6 separate regions of the Homo sapiens genome follow, and regions 2, 3, 4, 5 and 6 are each linked to region 1. Evidence: promoter capture Hi-C in human tissues and cell types (Jung and others, 2019). All regions are on one chromosome and are shown on one strand. Each heading gives the region's core, a stretch centred on a gene start or on the middle of the fragment in contact. The rest is flanking DNA. Distances are from core to core; before and after follow the strand shown.

Region 1 (3,345 bases), core at 552-3,051:
GAAAAGAATGAGTATTGCCTTCTCTTTCTAGTCCTGTGGTGGTTTAGGAAGATCCCAAGAAGGGCTGAACTTCCAGGGCTCCTCCTGGGAGAGGGGGCAGAACAGAAGGAAAGATTACACCTTAGCCTGTACTCAAGGGCATTGCTTGTAAGTCTGTCCAACCAGAAGAAAGTTCAGATCCTTTATTTGTGAGCTGGATTATACCTCTGGAAGAGAAAAAAGGGAGAGACAAGTTTTACTCCCTCCTGGAGGCAGATTTCTCTACCTTGATTTTTTCAGAAATTGTGTACATTCTCTCCTCTCATGTATGTATCTCCTACATACCATACACACGATTCTTCTCCCCCTTCTATACCCCAGCCCACGCCAACCCACACCCACTGTTCTCTCTTCCAGCTATGGATCAAGGGAAATCTTCCCGGGTCCCTAGTTGGTATCTGTTTTCATAGCATCTTTGGGGAGGTTTTGTAAACAAAGCATTGGTAGAAGGGCCCTTGGCTGATGGGGCCATAAAGTGCCCTTTCTTTGGTTTTGTGCTCTCCCTCTCTTGTGGGGCCAGTCATTTGAATCCAGAAGATATCCCAGGATGGAGCTGCCCTGAGTATTTCTGTGGCTGGTTGGAAGGCTGGCACACAACAAAGTGGGCATGCAGCAGGCTGCCTCCCTGGCTTAGGCCAAAAAAATAAAGCAACTCAGAGATGGAGAAGAGGCAGGAAATCTATGTTGTAAAAAGTCTTTGTTTAAAGGAATTCCGTTCAGGTGCTGAGAACGGGGTGTTCAGCAGAAGAGGATAATATGAGTAAACATTGGCAGTAAGAACAAACACAGCAGTATCACTGTCTGCGTCTGGCCTCCTCCTGTGCTCAGTCACAGGTCTCTCCCACCGCCCTCTATGATAGCAATCATAAACAACATGTAGAAGGGCTTTACAGTTCACAGACCTCAGTTCCCCTCAGCGGCACTTCCTTGCAGGGTTTCTTTATGCACTGGATGACCCTGGTTCCACATAAATGAAAACTGGGCTTAAAGGACACATCCATGTCCTGGGAGCTGTACAGACTTAAAGAAAAACCTAGATAGGGGCAAAAATTGGGGCAGGCGGTGGGGGTGGGGGGTGGGGGGTGGGGGGGGGGAAGAAGTGGTCGAGAGAGTCATCTAATAGGTCACCAATGTTGCTTCTGGGAGGTTGCCGGAGGGTTGGCTCCTTTCAGCCAGGTTTAGGGCCAGGTCTGGACACACTCAGGAGGCCGGTGGCTGAAGGGCAGAGGGCAGGGTGGAGGCCCAAGTGAGGCCAAGGAAGGAGTGGATGCCGCTGGGGCTGGCACTTCCTTGGCTTCTCAGCGTCCTGGCAACCAAGAAAAGATTCCAGGAGTCGACTGGTGGCACCAATGCGAGAAGCCCCGGGCGGATGAAAGAAGCTGACCCGTGCGAACCCCCCACCCCCTCCACAAAACCAGGAGATTCCTGCCCAAGAGCAAGAGATGGAATTCCCCTAACGGAGGAAGCTGCCGACCTAAGGGCTGGGACTGGCAGCGCGCCCTCTCCGGGAGCTTCAGGTCTGGGGCAGCCTGTGCAGGCGCGGGTGGAGGCCCGGGCGCGTCCCTGGGGGCGGGAGCCAGGGGCGGCCAGCAGGTGGGGCCTGGGAGCTGGACTCCGCCCCCCGCTCCCTCCCCGTTGGTCCGCTGCCGCTCAGCACCGGCCCCTCTCCCGAGCCGGAGCGCGATTGGTGGCAGCGCTTGTCGCTCGGAGGGGGCCGGGCCGCTCTGCTTCGCGGCTCTCCCCGCCGCCGCTGCCGCTGCCGCTGTTCTCCTAGCAGCGCGGGCCGGTCGGACCGCCAAGGCAGCCGGCGCTGGCGATGGGAAGCGGCGTGGCCGCCGACACAGGCAGTGGCAAAGTTTCCCAGACGTACACATCTGGACGCGCGGCTGCCGGCTACCCGTGACCCCTCTAGGAAGGGTTCAGGGATTTTTAATTTGGAAAAAAATCCACCTGGTTTCCTTTGTCAAGGTCTCTCCGGGTGGCCAGCGGCAGGAGCTGCAAACTTGGGCACGGCGGCTACACCGGCAGCGGACCGGGCTTTGGAGAACCTCGGGACTCAGGTGCTGAGGTGCCCAGCGGCTCCGGACGTGCTACGGGGTGCGAGCGCGGGGGAGTTCGGGGCGCACGACAAGGAAGGGCCCCCGGGAGCTCTATATGGAGGAAGGAGCCCAGAATGGTGTGCACCAGGAAGACCAAAACTTTGGTGTCCACTTGCGTGATCCTGAGCGGCATGACTAACATCATCTGCCTGCTCTACGTGGGCTGGGTCACCAACTACATCGCCAGCGTGTATGTGCGGGGGCAGGAGCCGGCGCCCGACAAGAAGCTGGAGGAAGACAAAGGGGACACTCTGAAGATTATTGAGCGGCTGGACCACCTGGAGAATGTCATCAAGCAGCACATTCAAGGTACGGGCGCCCCGGAAACTTGGGTCGCCCATGAGGCCCGGGAGTGCCCCGCGCGGCGCGGGGTGCGCTGGGGCTGGTGCGCATCAACTCAGCCACGGCGGGGCTCTGGGGCCGCAGATGCGTGGTAGTCGTGGGGCCTGCGTGTGAGCTCCTGCCTGCGTTCGGGACCTTCTGTCTGCGGCCGTGCGCTCTTCCCCGGGGCACACGTGTGTGCGCAGGGCTGCACGAGCGGATGTGTGCAGCTAGCTGGCGGTATGGGGGCGCGCTGCGCACGTGTCCAAATGTGCGTGTGACTCTGGGCTGGTTGCTCGCGGGCTCTCGGGATCGCACACAAGTCCGGCTCAGAGTGTGTGTGCATGTGAATGTCTGTGTGTGTACAAGAGGGAACGCGCGGGCAAACGAGCTTTTTTGGCCACTGTAGGCGTCAGGCGAGATGCCCGCGCGGCGGCCCTGACTATTGGCAGTTAAGACCCGCAGGCTGCCGGACAAGCGAGGCTAGGAAAATTGCGTTGTATCAGCCCCAGCCCCAGTCTTGCTGTGATCCCGTTGGTAGGCGATAGGGAATGCAAGGAGCCCTCTGTGGTTGAAAAGCCGCTTGAACCTATAGCAGTCCCTACCCCCACCACAGCCCGCGGGTCCAGGACCCTCTCCAGGAGCAGGTGTCAACGCCGGGAAGTAGCGCTGGAGTCTCTGTCCACTGTGGTGATGACTCCGCCCAAGACTGGAAGAACACGCCCTGGGCTGCGCCTTCCCCGCGGAGCCGCCCGGGACCGGGTGAAGGCCGATCCCTACTGTAGCTCCACTCTCAGGCCCTGGGAGCAGCCGGGGCTGAGCAGACCTGGGTTGGGTCTGAAGTGTAAGGTTACGCTGGTTGGGTGCGCTCCAGACCAGCGCGGGG
Region 2 (3,345 bases), core at 443-2,942, 240 kb after region 1:
TCCCAGGAGTGAGTGGTGTTTCATCACTGCTTCTGGTAGTGCTGGTTTACAGAGGTCCCTCCAATGTCAGGAGATCAGGGATTTGTGGACAGTAGGAGAGAGCTGAAGTAGCAACATAAGCAGGATGACACCTGGCCCCATGCAGGGTGCAAATTGTATTTCTCTGTCAACATGGGCTATCGACAGCTGCACATTGACTCTAGATCTGGCAGAGTCACAGCAAGCAGACTCCCTGCCTCCTCTTTCTCCAACGCATTAAAACAAGCACAAAATATACCTTCCCTTTTCCTTCCACAATTATACTACTGTCCTAACCCACCAAGACACTTTATTAAATGTTATTTATAGAAATTTCAAAAAATTAATTAAAGATAGCTTGCATAGGGAATAAAAGGTAAAAGTCAATCAGCTTTTAAATTTGAACCAGAAAATCAAAGGTTTAGCAAAGATAGGGCAGCAAAAATCCTGATAAAATCTTTGTGATTAGTCATTATATTTGTCTTTGAGCTTCCTGGCAGCCTTAGCAAGAAGGCAAATATGATGGGCTGGGTACTTGTGTTTGGCTGTAAGAAAAAACACAAGTTCAACTCCAAAAACACAATCTTTGGAGCTAAGAAGTTCTGAGAGATATTATATGTGAACAGGTATGTGTGTGTGTTTATGTGTATATAAAATAGTTAATAGTCAATATATATAATATACAATGGACAGTGTTTTGGAAAGCAATTTTCCAGCCAACGCAGAAGTATTTTTGGGATAGTTCTTTCTTGCTTTGGCACTTAACAAAGATTGAAAGAAAACATGAAAACCTAATTAAGTAAAGGTACTTTGCAAAGACAGAGCCAGTATCATCTAGGGTACTTCAAGGCATTTTGTTTCTTCTTTATTTTCTTTTTTGGATAGCAGTTGTTTGGTTGGGGCTAAGAGAATTCCCTCTTCTAATCAGCAGCACATGTTTGGGATGCAACTAACTGGGGATGGAATTTTTCTACTATCTGGTCCACCAGAAGCCTTTACTCTAGCTCAGTGTTAACAGAGCTCGCAGGTACAAAGAGGCAAGTAGCTCCTATAGGAAGCAAAGCTTTCCATCTCTTGCTGCCACCCCTCAAAGCTCATTCTTCCTCTGATTGCATTTCCTGTGCATCAGGAGTTCACAATCTTATTTTAACCCCAGCACCGGACCAGAACAATAGAAAATGTTTATTACAGCCATTGTGTATAACAAACCATTCCAGAAGTTATGGTGTGAATCAGCAACCATCCATTGGCCCAGAATCCTGCAATAAAGGCTGGGATCACTGGGCAGCCTGTCTCTGCTCTACACAATGGCTCTCCCTGTCATTTGCAATCAGCTGGTGGCCCGACTGGGGCTGAAGGATCCACGAGGGCCTCACTCACCTGTCTGGGGCCTTTGTGGGGTGGCCTAATGACTGGGCTGGGGAAGAGGCTGCCTAGACCTTCCTTAGTTAGGGCAGCAAGACAGCAAATGCAAAAGGCCTGGAACTTGCGCAGGGTCCCTCTTGCTGTGTCCTGCTGTGTCACGGTCCAGCCCAGACTCAGTGTGTGAGGCAGCCACACAAAGATGTGAATTCAGAGAGGTGAAATTCATAGGAGACCATTTGGTAGCAATCATCCTCAGCCTCCTCCCATCAATACCTTAGTCATGGTAGGTATTGGCAGGAGTCAACTGGCAGGAGTCTCACCTGAGGGTTGAGGAGGGAGAGAAGGGGACAGGTATCCCTTTCATGGGGAAGAGAGGGGATTTGTATCAGGCCATTTGGTACTAGCCCAGTTCTCACTTCAAGTTCTGTGCACTCAACACTTAACTGCCACCATCAAAAACCCAGATATCAGACTTTATGAGCTCTATTTAAATTTTTCAAAAAGGATATATGAGAAATGGACCTTGGAAGTGATAAAACAGTAAATGTTTTAAGAAGCCTCCTGGCAACGGTGCTTGAAGACCTTGTAAGTGTGAGACATATTGAGTTATGCTGCTCCATGGCCAATGTCCTGACATTTGTGGGACAGTGACCTCCCCAGGCAGCTGCAGCAATTGGAGATCTTGAGGTCATTTCCGTATGGACTGCAGTGAGATATACAGCATGTCAGTGGCAGCCCAGAAGTCAGTCGAGTTTTCTCCAGGCTGGAATGAGGACACTGACAGCCCCCACCAGCCCTAGCTTAGGACAGGGGTCACACTGTTTAAAAGGATCACTTGAATGACAAGAAAGGCCATATGCTCATCACTTTTGCAGAAGCTGGAAACCTAGAAGGGCTGGATAAGAAAGACATTGGGTAATGAAATCAGGGGACAAAAACACTTTGACCTCCAAAGAAATAGTGGAAATCTTTAGAAAGGCTGATTAAATAAAAGTAAACATAAGATTCTTTGTTTTGACTCAGAGCAGGCACCCATGTGTGCACACACACACAAGCACCTGCACATGCACCCGCATCCACAGAGATGGGATGGAGGAGGCCTGACTTAGTAGCACCATGTAAAAATAATTTGTAAGTATATGTTAGCAGTAAGCTTAATTTGAGACAAAAGCAATCAAAGTTGTTGTGACTTTAGATTATATTAATAGGAGCATAGATTCTAGATTAAGGGAGGTGATTTATTTCTTCTATTCTGTATAGCCCAGTTTACTTTAGAAGTATTAGGTCAACTTCTGCATAATATGAAAGGGTTCAAGAAAAACTAACTTAATTAGAGGGAAGTTCAACATGATTAGAGAATTTGAAATCATGAAATATGCGGAAACACAAGGAAGAACTGAAGATATTTGACCTAGAGAAGTCCTTAGCAAGGACTTAAGAATGGGCTTCAGTTGTTATGTGGAAAGTGGGACTTGATCTGTCTTCTATGGCTCCAAAATAGGTCCCATTGGACTCATGAATGTAAGATTGAGGGACCCTGGCATTTGGAGGTCAGAAGAAGGAAGAACATCTAATAGTTGAAGAGGCCCTCTAAGGAATGGATTGCATGGATTTCCCTTTTACTGCAGGGGCTGCATGATCACTCATCAGGGCAGACAGAGGGAATTCACACCTTGGGATGGATGCTTGGTTCAAAAGGAACTTTAGAATCCTGTCCAACCAACTGTGAGGGCTGTCATGGGCTCTTGCCTTAGCTGCTATGAAAAAGGTAATGAATGCAGTGGCTGTGCCCTCTCTTGCTGAGGGTTCAGGGGGCTGCTGCTGAGGCCTGTTTCTGTTGCTGCAGGCCCCATTTACAGTTATGAAGAAGCAGAGGCATCAAATGCTTAGCCAGGTCCAGGACCACAGGCAGCAAACCAACACCAGCTACTCACATGGGCACAGCTCCTGGCCATCCACTTC
Region 3 (3,345 bases), core at 555-3,054, 200 kb after region 1:
TAGCCAGACCATCCTGGTTTGTTCCTTTGCTGGGAATGAATGTCCTCCGCTACCCCACCCACTTTGCTTAGCTCCAGACTTCCAAAGTCAGCGTTACTACCACTGTTTCCAGAAACTCCTCCATGGTTCTGCCCCTAGCACCGCCCCAGCTGGATTAGGAGGTTGGCCTCAGTGCTCCCACGCACCCTGGCTCCTCCTTATCCTGCTGTGTTTTACCTGGTTATTGACTGACTAAATTACAGTGAGTAGTTTAGGTCAGACTAGCCAAGGTGACCAGTGTGACAGGAACATGATCCTGGTCATCTCCAGACCCCAACAACAACTAACCCAGTGTGCCGCTCATCGTAGTCATTCTGTCAATTTTGTTGACAAAAGAATAGTCATGATCTCCCAGGGAGGTAGATGTGGTCACCATCTCCACTTCATAGATGAGGCAGCTAAGTCTCAGAGGGTCTAAAAAAGAAAAAAGGGACAGGCTCAAGGCCACATAGCCAGGAAGTGCTAGGACAGGAATTCAAATCCAGGCCCGCTGGCCCTGGACCTTGTATCTCCTCTACTCTCCCACTCCTGGAAGCCTGGGAGGCATCAACTTGGGCACCTCCTCTCTGGTTCTCTCCTGACAGCCAGCCCACCCCATTGCTTCTTAGGGAGGGCAGACCAGAGCCAGGACAGCCGCCACATGCACTAAAATGGCAGGTCCAACGTAGGTGAGCCTCCCTGGTCCTTTCTTGGGTGCAGGTGATGGCTGGGGTCCTGCATCTACTTTGTTGGGGGCAGCAGGCAGGCTTGGCCAGGAAGGGTTTCCCAGGCTGGTGTTCAGGCTTCCAGCTGGGCACCACTCAGCTAGCTGCCACTGGCCCGGGCTGGAGTTTGACCCCCACTTCTCCAGGCCTGGGCCTGAGACTCAAGTGACCCCCAGTGCCCCTAGATAGAAAGAGTCCTGACCAGGCGCCCCCAGCTCATTGAGCGCTTAGTATGTGCCAGAGCTATTTTAAGTACTTCACCATAAATTAATCAGTGCCATATGATGGTGGTATGGACCATTACCAATGTCACCTGATGTAACAGGGAGGCAGACCCAGCGAAGTTAAGGAATTTGTCCAGAGTTACAGAGGTGCGATTTGACTGTTTGGTTTCAGCGTCTACACCCTTTACCATTAAACAGGCTGCTTGCCTCTGGTACACCATGGGTCTCTGATTCCAAACAACTTATTTGAATTTTGTCCTTATCCCTTTTCTCCATTCCCTCTGGAGAGAGAGAGATGTTGGGCAGCAGGACCAGTGAAGTAGGAGACAAAAAGGGAACTTCAGAGAAGGGTGTGTCTGTGTCCTAGCCTCAAGCTTTGCCTGGAGCTTTGCCTGGGGTTTCAGTAAGAAGGAGAGATGGGTTGCATAGAGGCTTTCTGGCTTCTGTTGGGTGAGAGGTAATTGAACAGTTGGCAGCCATGCTTTAGGTCACCTTGTGAGAGGGAGGCAGCTTCCTATTCTCTCTGAAATAGGGAGAAATTGGCATGCCTGTGTGAGTGTGCATGTATGTGCATGTGTATGTCTGCACATCTTTATACATGTATATGCAAGTACTCTGTTCATGTATGCACACATACGTTTGTGTACATGTGTATCGTGTTACATACATATAACACATGTGTTTGTGTGCATGCCTTGCATGCATATCCATGTGTTCATATTCATGCATACAAGTGTGTGTGTGCATGTGTGCACACATGTATGTGTTAATGCATCCATGTGAGCACTGTGTTTGTGTGTGTATTGTGTGTCTGTGTGTGAGTGTGCTTGTGGGTGGATGCGGACCTGTGTGTGCGCACTTACGCAGTAGTGTGCATGCATAAGCAGCATATACAGGCACATGGGCACGTGGGCTTGTGTGTGCTTGTGTGAACAGTGGTGTTTCAGTCCCCACTAACAATGGGTTGAGCCTCTTTCACCACCCACTGCTACCTGGAGCCACCTTCAAAATCCTGATGAATGACAAATAATTGCACAACTGTGAATCATTGTTATTTTTAATTGTTGGTAAGAAAGTCAATGTAGTGATGAAATAGAAACAGAGCTCCCCAGATTGCTTGCCACCAGCTGCTGGGTCCTTCCCCACCCCCTGCAGAACCCCCATTATCCCTTGGCCCAGAGTCTGCCTAATCATTGTTTAATGTTTCAAAGATTCTGTCCTACACAAGAGATACTCATTCCAGGCTGTAAAACTACCAACAGCTTTGCATGCAGCTGGAATAATTGCAAAAGTTAAAAAAAAAAAAACAACAAAAAAAACAGAGGAAAAGAATGGTCCAACAGTATTGTGCTTTATGGAGCTTAAAGAATCCCATGTAGCTAATCAAATTACAACCAAGACTCAGGCAGCTTAAAGGTGTTTACACAGCCAAGCACATGGGCTGTCAGCCCGTTCAGCCAAAGGCTCTTTGCCACTGCCTGCCTCTATGGCTTTGACCAGTGCAACTAGGCTGGCTCACCCTCAAGACTGGCAGCAAATACCTGGCAACCTTGGGGTGCACACCACCCAGTACCACCTGAGTCCTGGGTTCTCCTATTGTTGCTCCTTGCTGCCTGAGGTTGCCTCTGCCTGCCACATCCTATACCAGGCCTGAGAGTTCCTCTTGGGCATGGCCACTGCTACATCTCCTCTGGTGGTGTCCAGCAGCACTTTCCCAAGCTCTTACTGTAATGACTTATATGACTCTTGAGTTTCTGGCTACTCTGAGTATTGAATGCCCATCTCTCCCTGTTGATTCAAGCCCTGACCCCAGGCCTGGGCCCTGCTTTGGCCACTTTCTATGGAAGTAAAGTTTCTCTCATAGATATAGATATAGATATAGATGATATAGATATAGATGATATAGATATCTGACAGATTCAACTGATTCAACTGTGTCCATTTCTGAACCTACCTCTCAGCTGCCATGCATGATTCTATGCCAGGGCACCCAGGCCAGGGGCACGTAGGGGCTAAAATAAAGTCTGTGCTGTCTATTTGCTAAATTATGCATCCTGGTGTGAGTCTGTCTCCAAAGTGCCTTTTCTAACTGCATAGTCCAGAGAAGGCACCTTTTGGCCAAGTACATCAAGATGCTGTGTGCTAGCAGCGTGGCCAGTCCTGACCTCTGCAGAGACTCTGCAGAGACTCTGCAGAGAAGTATTGTTTCTTCCCAGTGGGTGGCCTTGACTTAACAGCAGTGCAGCAGCCTGGGATGACTTCCCTGTACCTGCTGGCCAGCAACCCCAGCTTTCCCCAACCTTCTCTGCATTGGTCCTGCGTTTGGCCTGCCTCTGTTTCCTGTCAACTTGCTGTTCTCTGATGGAATGGAATCTTGC
Region 4 (3,345 bases), core at 244-2,743, 170 kb before region 1:
TTTCCCCTCTTTGTAAAGATACGGGTCATATTGGATTAGGAGCCCGCCCTGCTCCAGTATGACCTTGTCTTAACTAATTATATAATATTTATATTATTATATAATTTTAGATATAAAATGATTTTAGATAGAAAATTGAGGGCACTGACATTTTTGGGGGGTGGAGGAAAAGAAGTCAGAGAAGATGGGAAGAAACAGCAGAAGAGGATCAATGAACTATAGTTTTGCAGCATTAGGTGACAATTTCAAGAACTGGGTGGGAAGGATCTGTTCCATGCCCCTCACCTTGCTTCTGGTGGTTTGCCGGCATCTTTGCAGACCAGGCTTCTGGTGGTTTGCTGGCATCTTTGCAGATCATATTATACACAGATTATAATCTGTGGTCAAATTTTACCTAGGGTCAGATTATACACAGATCTGTGGTCAGATTATACACAGATTTTTGTAAAAATCTGATTTCAATTGACTAAGTCTTTTTATTTCTTTTTTATGATAATGTGCTAAATTTTATTGATAATCAAGGAAACATAAATTAAAATAGCGATAACATTACACATTCACTAAATCCACAAAATTTAAAAGATAAATCTGCTGATATTAACTATTGGAGTGAATATAGATCAATGGAAAACTATACCTTACTGAGGGAACTATAAATTGATATAGCCATTTTGGAAATGAATATGCTCCAGGACCCAGCATTTCTCTTTCTAGGTATATCCTAGAGAAACTCTTGTTTATAAACACCACACATGTGCAAAAATGTTCCTAGCAGTGCTATTTGTAATAGAAAAATAATGGGAACATCCCAAATGTCCATCATCATGAGACTAGATAAATAAAATGAAGCATTATACAGTAGTTAAGATGAACAAATCACAGCTACACAGCTATAGCATGAACAAATCTTAAAACTTAATACTGAATAAAGAAAAGCAGATCACAAAAGACTCCATACAGCACAATGCCATTAAAAAAAGTTTGAAAAAAGCAAAGCTTAATTTAGTGTTTAGAAATGCATATATATGGAATAACACTATAAGAAAAGCAAAGGAAAGATACACGCAAAATTTCAGGAGAGTGGTTAGTTCTGGTGGGGATAATAAAGGGGCTTGCAGGTTAATTCATGGACATTGGGAATATTCTAGTTCTTAGGCTAGGTGGTAGATTCATAGGATATTTATTTCATTGTTATGTTTCATAATTTATATATATATAAAACTTTCTTTTGTACATGCTCGGTATGATATAATTAAAAATCCAATAACCAGAATGATTTATAACTAGGGAAATTTGTAGTTTGTGGCTACTAGGTTGTAAATTCCTCAAAGGTAGCTATTTGGCAAAAACAAAATATTCAACAATAATTGGACTCAACAATGGATGAAGAATGTTGTGATATGTGTATACTGATGCTTCTGGAGTGCTTTTAAATGTACTTAGAAGAGATTGAAGATTGATATCATGTGAGTCCCCCTGTCATTTTGTCTTTTTAAAAAAATTAATTTAATTTAATTTAATTTTAAGTTCCAGGACTAAGTCTTTTAAATCAGTCAAAATGATTTCCATTTATAGATTCAGGCTTAATTAGCCTCCAGGGGTGCGATATAGGAGCAGTGGCATGAGGACTACGGCTGGAAGCAGAAAGACTAGCGTTCAGCGCTGGTTCTATAGTAATTATATAATAATTATGTAATCAGTTAAGACAGATATAATTTTTAACTGTGCAGATATAATTTCCAACTGTGACACAGTTTCACCTATAACAGGGAAGGTGGTCTTTGGGAGAACAGTATCAGCAGAGGCCAGATTATACACAGGGCAAGGGAAGTAAGAAAGTGGAACCCTGAAATAGAAGGGAAATAGAAGAGCATGGGACAAACGGAAATACACTCACCATAGGGGAAGAGAAGATGTTCAGACTGAGGACAAAGCAAAATGGATGGATGAGCAGTCATCTGTATCCTTGTCTGGATTGCAGCAGGTGGACTTTTCTGCACCCTCCTGTTAGGCTCCGTATTCTTTTGTCTTCTTCTTCTTCTTTTTTTTTTCTTGGTATAAATTATATGAAGAATTGGTTTATCTCTCCACTTTGCTCATAAAAAAAATTGTTAAAAATCATCACAGAGCAAGCAAGCAAGCACATGCAAGCAACCCTGGTTGATATTGTACAATAGAAATATAATGAGGGAGGGAGGAAGGGAGTTCTCCTTAGGATACAACCAGAGCATATGTACTTGTAGAATTTCAGGGTTTTTTAGACAATTTTTTTTCCATAGAAGATATGTAGCTTAGCATGAAGACCATTTCCCTTGAGAAAAACTTTAAAGATAGTAATAATCTTAATTAAATAGTCTTTTCTATTCAGAAGGGAACAAAATTATAAATGTACATATAATTTTCAAGCATATGTTCTTCTTAATGATATTAATATATCCCTAGAGATAGTAGTAAAGCTTCTTCCTAATTAGGTAGTATTTTATTAAACTGAATAAAATCTCATGTTAGTTTGAATACCATTTTCAAGAATTAAATAACATTCAGATTCAGATAGATTTTGTTTCCTCCATGGAAATGATCAGTGCTGGTCAGAAACCAGTTTTAGGATCAAGAAAACAGTGAATCTGCTTGTTAAATAAGAACTCAAATTTCCCAAGATTTTGCCAAGCATGGATATGTCTTATTGTTGATTCTACTTATGCCAAGACAGCTTTTTTTAAAAGTAAAAATAAGAATAATTTGAACTGTGTAAAAATCTGATTTCTTCAATTGACTAAGTCTTTTACATCATATCAGTCAAAATTGTTTTGATTCAGCCTTAATTAGCCTCCAAGGTTGTGGTATGGAGCAGTGGTGTGAGGACTAGGGCTGGAAGCAGAAAGACTAGACTTCCAACACTGGTTCTATGATTAAAGAAAAAAGAGAAAACTATAAAATTAGAAGTGATAGAGATAAAAACAATTGTAAGGGGTATTACATGCATCTTTATGGCTATACATTTGAAAACAGATACAATAGTTGATTTCTCAGCAAAAAATACATCTTCAAAAGGAGTAAGCTGAAGTAAAAAATGTGACTACTAATTACCACACATGATGTTAGAAAAGTCATTACAAAGCTATGATTGAAGAAAACAATAGGACTAGACAGATATACAAGTGAGTTTCATCTCATTTTTAAAGAACAGGTAATTCAAATGTTTTATGCACTATCTGGATCATAAACAATGATCACATGTTATTATAAATGTAAAATTTCTAAATTAAATATTAGCAAGTAGATCCTAGTAATGTATCTAATGAGTATTAAAACAAAAATAGTTTACTTCAAGAATGCAAACATAGT
Region 5 (3,345 bases), core at 621-3,120, 170 kb after region 1:
GGGCTCCCATGAGCAGGGCCCAGAGCGCAGGGCAGGCTGGGTGTGGCTTGGCTGTCACCTGTGTCATGGATTTGCTATTCTGGTGGGCAGTGTCTGGAAGCAGCAGGAGGCAGTCTGGCCGGGGTGCTGACAGCCAGGTGAATGTCACATGGTGCACCAGGCAACTCACTGGAGGACCAGACAGTGAAGAGGGAGAAGGGCTGGCAAGAACTGGGTGGAGGAGTAGACTCCCAGCTTGGGTGCCTCAATGTGGGGTGGGCTTGGGAATTGCAGGAAATGGGGGTACAGGCTAGGGACAGAGAAGCAGATGCCCAGTTTGAGGGCTGGGGCCAACATCTCTGGCAGGGAGGCAGACTGGGGAAAAAGGGGGTCCTGACTTGAAGCCATGGGGCATCAATGTCACATCCATTAGCTTCTCAGCAGACCCTGTCAGGTGTATTTCTCTAACTCCTGTGCCTGGTGGTTGTGGGTTAGATGAATGGATGGATTCATGGATGAATGGGTCTTTGGGAAGCATGAAAACCCAAGTCAGCACTGACCCCGAAAGAAGGGGCTAAGATTGTTTTACCAAAGGCTGTTTGTGAGGAAGGGAAAGGGATTGTCATGGCACATGCAGGGGTGCACTCTGACCCACTGTCTCCTGTTCCTTCTTTCTCCAGAGGCTCCTGCCAAGCCTGAGGAGGCAGAGGCCGAGCCCTTCACAGACTCCTCTCTGTTTGCACACTGGGGCCAGGAGCTCAGCCCCGAAGGCCGGCGCGTGGCCCTGAAGCAATTCCAGTACTACGGCTACAACGCCTACCTCAGCGACCGCCTGCCCCTGGACCGGCCCCTGCCTGACCTCAGACCCAGTGGGTGAGCAGAGTCAGTGACTGGGCCCTTGTCGACCTGCCTATGGGGAGATGGGGTCCCCAGAGTGCTGGGAACAGAGCAGGACTGGGCGCCTGGATTCTTGGGTCCCTTTCCTGCTTCAGCCAGGGCCTGTCCCCTCGGCTTGCGTTCAGCAAGTCACTCTCCTCTTCCCTCAGCCTCAGTTTCTCCATTAGCTGAGTAGGGGCAAAGCTTTCTTCCAGTAGAGATTTTGAGGATTAACAACTTAATTTACTCGTTAAGGACACTACAATCATCTCACATTCCTGTTAATACGTCATTTTAACCCAATTAGTTGCATTTTATGCATAATCTTTTTTCTGTAAATTAGTTTTTAAAGTACATCTATCTTGTGGGGCTAACAAGTCGTTACATCTGACAGAGAAGTCTGTCTTGACTTCTCTCTTTGTTACAGAAGGATGTTCCTTTAAGGTTCAGTGAGAATTCTTACTACTCCCAATTATTGAAAATGTGGGCATGTACCTCAGCTGAGAAAATCTCATTAATTTTTGTGAGCTCCCCCCCACAGTGTTTTCCCCCTTTTCTCCTCATTTTTACATTTTTTTAAAAGCTGCAAACCACAGTGAGCTTATATCTGGAGTCTTTGAGAAAGATCTTGCTGCTGGGTTTGGAGGCCGTGTTCTTTTAGGGAGAAGATTCAGTTCAGCTCCACAGACATTCATTGAACACCTGCTGTATACTGTATAATTGGGTATGGTTATTTGTGGCTCAGGGAGAACCTGGCTCGGCTAGGATGAAAGAGCAGCTGAGGATGTCCAAAGGGAGAGAAGAATGTGCTTTCACTTGCAGGTCATTTATTAAGCACTTCTGTGCCAGCATAGTCTAGACACAGGGATGATACGGTTTGGCTGTGTCTCCACCCAAGTCTCATCTTGAATTGTAGTTCCCATAATCCCCACATATTGTGGGAGGGACCAGGTAGGAGGTAACTGAATCATGGGGGTGGTTTCCCCCATACTGTTCTCCTGATAGTGAGTAAGTTCTCATGAGATCTGATGGTTTTATAAGCGTCTGGCATTTTCCCTGCTGGCTCTCATTCTCTCTCCTGCCACCCTGTGAGGAGGTGCCTTCCACCATGATTGTAAGTTTCCTGAGGCCTCCCCAGCCATGCAGAACTGTGAGTCAATTGAACCTCCTTCCTTTATAAATTACCCAGTCACAGGTATTTCTTCATAGCAGCATGAGAATGGACTAATACAAGGGACAAAGCAGTGAACAAAACATACAGAAACCCCTGCTTCACAGAGCTGGCATTCTAGTTGGGTGGAGGCAGAGAGTAAACAAAACAAAGAAGTCAAATATGCAGTATGTTAGGTGGTGGTGAGTGCTATGGAGAAATATAAAGTCGGAGAGAGAGAGAGACACCTGGGACAAGAGTGGGGAGCTGCAATTTTTCCTGCGTGGTCAGAGAAGACCTCAGTAAGAGGTAACATTTGAGCAAAGACCTGGAGGAGAAGAGGAAGCAAGCCATGAGGGTACTGTTGGAGGATGGGGGGAGTACCTTTCAGGCAGAGGAAGTGGCAAGTGCAAAGGCCCTGAGGCAGAAGCACGCATGGCACGTCATGTTTGAGGAAGAGGAAGGAGGCCCCTGTGGCTGGAATGGGGTGTGTAAGGGGGCAGTAGTTGGAGATGAGGCCAGAGGAGCAACAGGAAGCAGATCATTAGGGCCGTGGTTCTCAACCTTGCTGCCCATTCTACACATCACGGGAGCCTTAAAAAACAATCCTGATGCCAAGGCCACACCCCAGACCAATTAGATAAGTGTTTCTGGGGCAGCACTCAGCTTCAGTATTGTTTAGAGCTCCTGGGTGATTCCGATGTGCAGTCAAGGTGAATCCCAGGAGAAGGGCTTCATAGGCTTTTGCAAGGAGTGCAGCATTTACTCTGTGAGACAGAGATCCATGGGAAGGGCTTGAGCAGATTAGCAATATGCTAATTGTCACTTGCAAAGGTGCCTGTGGCTGCTATACTGAGAACAGACCGAGGGGGCAAGGCTGGGAGCATGGAGACCAATTAAGAGGCTTCCAGGTGAGAGGCAGTGGTGGCCTGGACCATGATGGCAGCAGGGGAGGTGCTGAGATGGGGTTGGATTCTGGAAATATCCTGAAAGTGACCTCAGCTAAGTGTCATGGGGCCTCAGTCCACAGAGGAGCTGCAGAGACCACTCCTGGGTCTGGAGAGGAGCTGGTCTGGTGGGGGCAGCACACAGGGGCTCTGGAGAAGAGATCATCAGGAATAGGGCCCTCTAGTTCCTGCAGGGGACTTGGCCATGACCTTGGCCAGAAGAAGAGCCATGGACTTTTCAGTCAATCTGTTACAAAACACAGGCACAGCTCAATCCATATTTGTTCAAAATTAAAGGGAAAATGGAAAGGAAGCCAAGGAAAGGGTGGATTTTACAGATTATAACCTGGTTATAACAACAACTGGGATTCCCATAGTGCTGGACGTGCCGAT
Region 6 (3,345 bases), core at 590-3,089, 150 kb after region 1:
GCAGGTAACAAAATTTATCTGAGCCTCAGTTTCCTTGCTTAGTTTGCTTCTACAAGGGTTCTTATTTTTACTTTGTGTGCCAAGTCCTGTGCTATGGACTTTATATACATCACCTCTATTAGGCTAAAAATTTCATGGTGGAGCTGGTGCATGCCAAAAAGCACAAGGAAAGGGGGAAGCATTGAAAGAGACCTGGGGAATCACAGCAAGAAGAATCTTGCCTGCAATTTGCATTGCCACCAGCACCATGATTAGCAGCCAGTCCCCACCTACCTATCATGATGCCACGGAGATGGAAGTCCCAGAACAATACTATGTCAGGGCTGGACCAGTCCTACATGACTCACTGCTTTATAGGTAACAAATTGAGTCCTAAAGTGGGGCATGACTTATCGAGTGGGTTTATTTGTTCTTTCATTTATTTACCAAACTTCTCTTGTGCATCTATTAGGTGCTGAGCCCGACGCCATGTTCTGAATGCACAGTCCTGCCCTTGGGGAACTGCTGCAACCATGAGAGAGGTAGAAAGCCAACCAGAAGGACGGATGGACAGGCGGAAGCCAGGGTAGACCTCTTAAAAAAGGAGTGGAATGGAAGCAAGTGGGGGAAATGAGAGGCTAGGATGAGAGTGACCCAGAAAAGGTTTTCTTAGATGAGGGAGACTGAAGCACAAGGATGATGGAAGAAAATGGTCCTGAGGAAAGGCAGGGAAGGAAGATACAGGAGAAAGAGGGATATTGATGTGCCCGGGCCCCTGAGTATGAATGGGGAGAAATCAAGAAGCCATTTGGCAGGACGTTTGATTCTCAGGCAAAGGTTTTTAGGAGGGGGACCTGGAGGGGGAAAACATCCCACTGAGCACAGTAGTGTCCTGGGGCCACAGATGGTCAGAGGCTAAGAATGCAGCATGGAGACACCATGGTACCTGACTTCCTGGCAGTCCTTCCTGTTCTGTAGTCTGGGGAGATGCTGCCCAGCACAGGGCTCACAGGGGCAGGAAGAAGCTCTCTGGAAGGAAGGGGTCTGAGAATTTGCCAAGGGACCCAGCTAGTGGAGCCTGAAAGGGGTCTTTCAGTCAATCCCCTGTCTCTGCCAATATCTCAGCTAGCTTAGTAGTAGACAGGAATCATATACAGATCAAAAGATCAAAATTAGCTAGCGATTAGTCATCCTATCACTATCCCCAAGCCTCTAGCATAGGAATAATGGGGTCTACAGCATGCTCACTTGCCTAGCCGACTGCGTGGAGGATAGCGCCTTCCTCACACACTGATGACAGAGGGAAAGTGAGATAAATGGAGAAGGATAGGGGGCTTCTTCTTGTCTTCTAAGATGGAAATTCCCATCCATAGATCAAGATATGAATGTAGGGCATGACCGTACAATTTCCTCCATGCCTGCACAGGACTATGTAGAGACAGAATGTGGATGTCCCTTGGTGCCTGGGTCTTAACCTTAGGGCCTGAGGACTGAAGACCTGGCCTTGAACCTGGTGGTACAGGGTCTCTGCCCTTAGTGACACAATGAAAGTAACAGCTGTGGTCAAGCATGGATGGGGGCTGGCTGTGAGACTTCTCAAGGCAGGGAAACATCTTGGTCACAGCTTCAAAACCATCCTCATCCAAGTGTCCCTGTCAATTGGCAAAAGTAACCTGAGAGGCAGAAGCAGATTGGAGGGACAGTCTTTCTCTAAAGGTTCCTATGGGAAGCAGTTACAAAGGCAAGCAAACAGGACTTCAATTCATTCAAAGAACAAAATCCTCTTGGAGACCAGTGATGTTTTGGAAAGCTTGTGACTAGGGACCCTGTTCTGGGGGCCTGATGGAATGACTATGTCCTTAAATATGCTCTTCTCCAATGGAGCTGAGTGGAAGACAGGCTGAGGGGGTCCTTGGAAAAGGCCCCATGTCTAACTGCCACCTGAGCCCCTAAATACCTTTGGAAAAGTCTGCAAGAGGAAGCTGAAAACACCTAAGGGAGCCTATACTCATTCCCCAACAACCAACTCACAGTCCACCTTTTAGCAAATCTGCTTAACACCGTCCATGTAGCCAGCCCTGAGACCCTCAGCTGACAAGGGCATGGATGATCCTTGCTTTCAGAGAGCTCACAGCCTATGTGAGCAGCCCTAAATGGCCCTCATGGATCAAACTGAAAACAAGTCAGAGGTTGATCACCAAGATGCAGATCCAGTGAGGTTTAGAGAAGAAGTGAATTAGGGGTCAGGGGACCAGGGATTGCTCTCTAGAGGACAGGGGCTTCTGTTGAGCCCTGCAGCAGCCTGTCTCTGCCATGGAGATCTGTACTGGACCCTGTAAAAGACATAGCCATAACAACAAACTTGACGAGGACTGTCTATTGCTGTGAAGCTTGGAAGTGCTTATAATGAGGGGCAGGCTTTCAGCGCTGTCTCCATGCCTTTCATCTGCTCCCTCTGTGAAGTCCCTGGGAACAGTCTGGTACCATGGTTTGGGGCCTTCGTTAGTTCTGCACTGTCTGAGACATTCACAGAGGCAAGAAAGCAGACGGGCTTCTTTATGTTTATAGCAACTCAGACTGCTTTTCTTGGCTACCGGGATCCAAAAAATAATATCATCAGAGCTGGCTGATTCACAGTGACGTGGTTAAAGAGTGCTGTGTCCTGGTGGCCTCATCTCAAGAGGCAGTGGTTGTGCCCAACACACTGTCCCTACCAAACCCTGGCAACCGCTGTATGGCCATCTGTCTATAGGACTGTCCATCTGTCCAGCCAGCCAGCCAGCCCCATGTGCAATGATGGTCCACCAGCAATACTCATTCACCTATCCATCTCACACTGGAGAACGAAGGTCGCTGAAGGCAGGGAGCCTGTTGGACTCCTGTATCCTTCTTTCGGTGGTTTATAACATTTTCTCCAGCACCAGCACCTGTAGAATCTGCCACACCCCCTTCAGTGACAGCTGCTTACAAAGCTGGTCATCCTTGAAGTGGAGTGGTAGACCAGCATTAGCGAGCATCCTGTTTGAAAAAGCCCCCAGACCCGAGAATCTTAACTACAAGTGACTCAGGAAAGTGGGGCTCAATGAAGAGTCCCTGAGATCCTCTGTCCTGCAACCTGGCCTGGCTTTGACTCCCAGCAACCTCCCTGCAGCCCCAGCCTCACCTGCCCTTAGAGCAAGGGCTGGTTGGAAGCTTTTTTTTTTCCATCTGTTTCTCCAAGTGTATGCTGGGGAGCACTGCTTCAGAAACACATGAGAAGTTTGTGGTATGGAGAAAAGACTCAGAATCTTAAAACAAGACTTGGCTGTTTCTTAGAGCTGCATGGCAGGCAGGAAGGAGGCGAGCACTCACCAGTGGGGGCCTGGG

Evidence for each region. Contacts are between HindIII fragments. The study calls those that stand out against the background at their distance.
Region 2: a contact is called between a fragment that was not itself captured here and the fragment with the promoter of GALNT18 in region 1, in 3 of the 25 tissues and cell types used here (H1 embryonic stem cells, aorta and dorsolateral prefrontal cortex).
Region 3: a contact is called between a fragment that was not itself captured here and the fragment with the promoter of GALNT18 in region 1, in 1 of the 25 tissues and cell types used here (aorta).
Region 4: a contact is called between a fragment that was not itself captured here and the fragment with the promoter of GALNT18 in region 1, in 3 of the 25 tissues and cell types used here (heart left ventricle, liver and mesendoderm cells).
Region 5: a fragment that was not itself captured here is called in contact with the fragment with the promoter of GALNT18 in region 1 in 1 of the 25 tissues and cell types used here (H1 embryonic stem cells).
Region 6: a fragment that was not itself captured here is called in contact with the fragment with the promoter of GALNT18 in region 1 in 1 of the 25 tissues and cell types used here (mesenchymal stem cells).

What each region holds. Positions count from the first base shown.
Region 1 is chr11:11,620,461-11,623,805 of GRCh38, reverse strand. GALNT18 (polypeptide N-acetylgalactosaminyltransferase 18) reads left to right here and starts at 1,801. Exons shown (of 11, transcript NM_198516.3): 1 at 1,801-2,447. The coding sequence starts at 2,213. RefSeq lists silencers at 1,499-1,858, 2,609-2,688, 2,709-2,778 and enhancers at 1,361-1,861, 1,979-2,058, 2,269-2,318, 3,059-3,288, 2,951-3,345. The HindIII fragment of the contact is 13,654 bases long and covers 1-3,345 here.
Region 2 is chr11:11,379,783-11,383,127 of GRCh38, reverse strand. All of the region lies in intron 3 of GALNT18 (polypeptide N-acetylgalactosaminyltransferase 18), which reads left to right. Among named protein-coding and RNA genes, the nearest start is that of CSNK2A3, 28 kb to the right of the region's middle. The HindIII fragment of the contact is 3,628 bases long and covers 1-3,345 here.
Region 3 is chr11:11,421,551-11,424,895 of GRCh38, reverse strand. All of the region lies in intron 3 of GALNT18 (polypeptide N-acetylgalactosaminyltransferase 18), which reads left to right. Among named protein-coding and RNA genes, the nearest start is that of CSNK2A3, 70 kb to the right of the region's middle. The HindIII fragment of the contact is 5,192 bases long and covers 1-3,345 here.
Region 4 is chr11:11,791,792-11,795,136 of GRCh38, reverse strand. No RefSeq gene overlaps it. Among named protein-coding and RNA genes, the nearest start is that of MIR8070, 10 kb to the right of the region's middle. The HindIII fragment of the contact is 5,691 bases long and covers 1-3,345 here.
Region 5 is chr11:11,446,251-11,449,595 of GRCh38, reverse strand. It overlaps GALNT18 (polypeptide N-acetylgalactosaminyltransferase 18), which reads left to right. Exons shown (of 11, transcript NM_198516.3): 2 at 660-852. Among named protein-coding and RNA genes, the nearest start is that of CSNK2A3, 95 kb to the right of the region's middle. The HindIII fragment of the contact is 8,293 bases long and covers 1-3,345 here.
Region 6 is chr11:11,468,379-11,471,723 of GRCh38, reverse strand. All of the region lies in intron 1 of GALNT18 (polypeptide N-acetylgalactosaminyltransferase 18), which reads left to right. Among named protein-coding and RNA genes, the nearest start is that of GALNT18-AS1, 100 kb to the left of the region's middle. The HindIII fragment of the contact is 5,610 bases long and covers 1-3,345 here.